Regions from separate parts of the Homo sapiens genome. Here region 2 is linked to region 1. Evidence: promoter capture Hi-C in 16 types of primary human blood cells and fetal thymus (Javierre and others, 2016). All regions are on one chromosome and are shown on one strand. Each heading gives the region's core, a stretch centred on a gene start or on the middle of the fragment in contact. The rest is flanking DNA. Distances are from core to core; before and after follow the strand shown. Region 1 holds the start of TMPRSS11E (transmembrane serine protease 11E). Region 2 has its middle 36 kb from the start of UGT2B4.

Region 1 (2,700 bases), core at 111-2,610:
GCTTCATCTTTCATACAATCTTCAGATCAGGAAGACGTTTTTGTTTGTTAGATGGTTGGTTTTGGTTTTTGGTTTTTTCCATGAGAGATTATTTGCATCTATTCTGCAGCAGGATTTTTAAAAATAGTCACATCTTTTGCTTCAAATTAGAGACTACACTCAGAAAAATTCACTCCAGTATTCCCACATTATACCGCCTCTACACATTTATAACCAAATTCCAAATCTCTGACATATACCATAGATAAGGCTTGTAATCTATTTAGTATGTTAAGTTTATTGGAAGCTTTCTTGAAGCACTGTTTTCTATAGTAAAGTCAATGAGAAAAAGAGAATAGGATACAAAACCATCATTGGTTGTAAAGAAATACTTGCAAAAGGCAGGGAGCCTTGATAAGCCCAACAAAATGTTTAGTATCCGTAGCTTTTAGTTGCTTCATGGATATGTACAGAAGAGTATTAAACTTCTAATAACAAGTATGTAGAACTTTCAACTGATGACAGAACCTGTTTTTCCATGTTAAATGAAGACCACAGATTTCATTCAAAGTTTAACATTTTCAAACTGTTCTCAAAGTAAAAACTAATAAAAAATGATATGCCAATATGAGAATCAGAGAAAATAAATTTTAATCAGGAGATAAAATTATTTTCAAAGACAAAACTAGTACCCCAAAACCTTGTTACTGATTAGTTTCTAACTTTGAAAGAAAACCTCAAAATGATCATGACTTATCTTTGGAGAAGTTGACTATGGCCAGGCATATCAGTGGATTTATTTTTTAAATCAGGCTATAATAATTTAGTCATATTATTTTCTTCAGTTGTTTCTGATTCTTTCAAAACATCTAGAGTTTTTAAATTTTTAACTACTTACAGAAATAAACATTTTTTTCTGCATTATTTCAGACTTTTTTTCATGTACACCTTCTAAAATAAAAGTGTTTCTCAATAAGACAAACAAAGCCCAAGCTAAAAATATGTTATATCTTTCTTGAAACATATGGCCAAACTAACTAAAAGACAGCTGTCAAACACCATGTACCTTTACATTGTGTAGAAACCTTCTAAAAGTAAACAGAAAAACACATGGGATACAACAAAAGAGGACAGGAAACACTAATACAGAAAGAATAGAAATCTTTTTCTTGACATAATTTTATGTAAAATCTCAAAAATATGTTTCTATATTTAAAAAAATAATAAACTGTAGATCTACACATTCCTTGGTGTGGCTCATACTGTTTTAAACTAAAAGTTACCTTAAGACTTCTAGAAAGAAAAAGGGAACTAACTCACCGATACATCATTGCCAACCAGCAATGAAGAGTCCTGTGAAGGTCGAGGTCTACATCCAAGTGTGTGAATCCAGCTCTATCAATGACTTTGTGGGCTGAATTGAAGTGAGGAAATAAGTCACTGATGATCTCAACAGAACCAGTCTGACAAGTCTTGGCTGGTGTAGTGGGGACTATATGTGACTAGCAGGACAAGGACAAATTTTACAGGGAGCAAGAGCAAAAAATAAATTTATAATTTATTGTTTTAAGATAATTTCTTTTAAGTATTAGTGTAAACCAGATTTTTTAGAAAAGTCAGACGTATAAATTTGGAAAGAAATTTTAAAACTATCTTGCTTGACCTTCTCTTGTTTACAGAGAAGAAACTGAGGTTTAATTAAGTTAAATGACTTGGTCAAAAACCAAATAGTTATTAAATTGCCAAGCCAGGACTGACATTCATATTTTTTAAACTAGCCTGACACAATTTGCATTCGATTATGTACATAATAAAAATTTCACTTTGGTTTTAACTATGTTAGCCATTGAAAATACACTAGAGATTAGAAAAGCATTAATATTTTTAAATTATGTGGCATCATTCTTCTAGAAAAATCAGTTAGTTTGCAAATGTCAACCCATACTTAAGACGTTATATTTCTTTCATTATAGTGGAGACAGGCATATCAACTCACGCTGAATCACTACTGTCTTATTTCTAGGGTGAAAATTACATTTTTTTAAACGTGTGCTCACATACTATGCAAATATCTGTGTGTTTGTGTTAGGTATAATCTCTAAATTGCTTTCCCTAATCCTTACAAAACAGAGTAGGTGTTTCTCCTCTGTGCTTTCATGGTATCATAATACTTACCTCATTATACTAGAAATTTTATTAATTGTATCTCAACTCCACAAGGTTGTGAATTCTTAACAGACTGAAACCCTCTTCCTAGCATATTCAGGCTCTCAAAAATATGCATAAAAAGAATGAGTAGAGGGCAGGTTGCAAGGAAAGGAGGAGAAAAAGAGGGGGTATAACCCATCCTAAAAAGCACCTTAAAAATATTGTTTAATTTCATTACATATCCATTTAGCCAACAGCTCACCTAAACAGATGCAGGAGTTGGAATTTATGTAATGTGTGGGATCAGACGGCCAAGAATTGGAATCATTCACTAGCAGTAACCCAAGAAACCTCTGTGCTGAGGCATACTGTGCTAGGGGCTACCAACATATATCCTTTTTATTCTGGTCACTAGGTCACTTATCCTGATGAATAGCATGGATATTTATTTACTTAAAGTCATTCAATATATAGTATTAGGTTTCTGTATACTCATTTAAAAATTACACTTTAGCCAAAAATAAAGAGGCAATAATAACAGTAAAAACTTCTGGGTTATGAGATTAAGCTGTT
Region 2 (2,747 bases), core at 92-2,591, 1.0 Mb before region 1:
ATCGATGTTTAATTGGAAACAGAGCAGCAAAGAAAATAAATATAAGATCACCTTGTTCTTGTAGAATAATACAAGAAATATATGGTGGGTTACAATTTTCTAAATGTATACAAAATAATATACATTTAGTTATAGGAATAAAGACTAGAATAAAAGCATAAAGTGTTAAACAGGGTATCTGTGTATGGAGTGACTCTTACTTTTTCATTCTCTTTCAATTTTCTTACAACACGCTTGCATAATTTTCATAAGGATATCACAGAAAGAGAATGAACTTTCCATGTTAGTTATTAACCTTCAAACAGAGATGACATACTGCAACACTGTAAGTTCCACCCCTAAAAGGTTTTAGGCAGGAAACCATTGAGATGAAACGTTGAACACAGGTTACTTTATATGTTGCCACAAGTAACTGGAATCATACAGAATACTTGTTTTATGTGGTTGATATAATTAGTATAGTGACCTTCATTTTGAAACTAATGTCATAAGGTTAAAGTCACACTTTTGAAGAATGCTCTGGACAATACATATTTGGCACAGTGAAAGGCTGAATGGTTTTTCCTTTTATCTTTTTCCTTTGAAAAATTGTTTTTAAAGTAAGCTTTACATCCATGATTTATATCAGAAAGTACACTTTTTATGTTCAAAGGGTTTGATCATTATTTTACAGAAAGTAAAGTTAAATGGTGAATGTAAAACACAAGGAATAACAAAAAAGTGAGTATACAGTTTTGACAGGAGAACAAGGAAACTTTGGCTTCTCCATATTTCTTTTTTGGTGGGAAAGTACATCAAGTAACATGGGAATTACTCGTTTACAGAAAGAAATTGAATTTTAAAACTCGTAAGTAGAAGGGATCACAAGTAAGAATAATTCTCAAACAAATCCAGGAAAACAAGTCTTTAGCAGGAGTTTTCTGAAGCGTGAAGTGAGCTGCTCAAGAGAGTGACCGGATCTTTTCTGGAGAAAAGCCTGGTGGACCTCTCCCACTGAAGTGTGCATGTGCATCCTCCGCATAGGACATGGTGAGGTGATGATGAGAGTCCCTCGAAGCCAGTTGTACATAACACATTCCATGAGGGTGCCAATTTTACAGTAAGATATCAGAGTAACAGGTGTCACCCATAAACAAACCCAGAAATATGTAACTATACATGTTTACTTATGGATTATCAGTAGGATTTTGAGGATGAGTTCACAGAAATTCAAAACCATACACCAGTCAAAACCATGCACCAGGCTTCGGGATGTCAGCAATTCTTACCTTATGTGATGAAGGAGTGATTTAGAAGGAAGGTTTGGGAAATTCTGACAAATTTTAAGATAGGTTAGAAATAATTATACAGTTGAGAGAAATATATAATATCTTCCCAATCATAAGTGACTTTTCCTTAGTAGCATAATCAAGGAAATGAAATTATAATGACTACATTAAAGTAATGATTTAGAAAACCTCCCTGAAATAAAAACAAGTTACTTAGGAGAACAATAACAATATAAAATTAAAGAGAAGTAAACAGTGGTAGTCTTCCTAAGAATCTATATTAGTGATTACAAGAGCTTGGTTCCCATATTTTTAACTGTATCTTTCCCTCACTACTGTGTAAAGATACTAATTTATTTCTTACTTTACATACTTAATCAAATACATACACACACACACGCACATGCACACACTTACATAACTACAGATTAATAATAGAGAAAATTGATGTTGTATAACATAAGTCTTTCCAAAGGAACTGAGCGATGTCGTATTTAAAAAACTGGCACTACTAGAAGTCAGTATGGAGGTTTCTCAAAAAATGTTAAAGATAGAATTAACATGTGATACAGAAATTCCACTTCTGAATTGTATTAATAAGAATGAAAATCAGGATCTCAAAGAGATATTTGCACATCTATGTCCATAACAGCACTATTACAAAAGCTAAGAGCTGGAAACAATCCAAATGTCTATCAAGGAACAAATATATAACAACTGTAACTGCTATATGTTATATACACGAAATAAAATTTTACTCAGCCTTAAAAAAAGGAATTGTGACACATGCTACAATGTAGATGAAGCTTGATGTCATTAGACTAAGTGAATAAATCAAAAAAGACAAACACTGTAATCCACTCATATAAGGTATTTAAACTGTGAAATTCATAGAAAAAGAAAGTGATTAGTAGGTAAAAAGGAGAGCATAAAATGGAAAGTTGTTGTATATTAGGTATAGAGTTTTCATTTTAGAAGAAAAAAATTCCGAAGATTGATTGCATAGCATTGTGAATATATCTAGCATTCTCTGTGTACTTAGAAGTGGTTATGATGGAAAGTTTCATGCATGTTTTACCATAGCCACTCCGCTAACAATTCTGGCTGATACTTGATTTTTTCTACTTAGTTTCTTGTAGCAATTCTTCCAATAATGTTGGCTGTGTTATTGCTCTTTTGTGACAGAGCAAATTATTTCTTCATAGGAAATGAAAACTTTCCCAGAGATCTGGAGAAAATAGCATTGCATCGTTGTCTCTGGGGTCAATGGTCAGTAACATCACAGAGGAAAGGGTCAATGTGATTGCAACAGCCTTTGTGCACTTCTCTCCAAAGGTTAGATAAATTGCCTGAGTGATGGAAAACTACTGAAAAGAGCTTTAAACTCTGTAAAGGGTTAAAGGATAAAAATTTCCTGCCTGACAAGTTAGCTTTTCAGATAATTTGAATTCACCTCAGATGTCAGTTTAAAAACAATGT

The links. The method cuts DNA at HindIII sites, captures the fragments that hold promoters and counts their contacts. A CHiCAGO score of 5 or more calls a contact.
Region 2: a contact is called between a fragment that was not itself captured here and the fragment with the promoter of TMPRSS11E in region 1, in 1 of 17 cell types (erythroblasts). The highest score is 5.4, in erythroblasts.

What each region holds. Positions count from the first base shown.
Region 1 is chr4:68,446,123-68,448,822 of GRCh38, reverse strand. It overlaps TMPRSS11E (transmembrane serine protease 11E), which reads right to left and starts at 1,360. Exons shown (of 10, transcript NM_014058.4): 1 at 1,300-1,360. The coding sequence starts at 1,310. The HindIII fragment of the contact is 3,931 bases long and covers 289-2,700 here.
Region 2 is chr4:69,458,439-69,461,185 of GRCh38, reverse strand. No RefSeq gene overlaps it. Among named protein-coding and RNA genes, the nearest start is that of UGT2B4, 36 kb to the left of the region's middle. The HindIII fragment of the contact is 1,470 bases long and covers 607-2,076 here.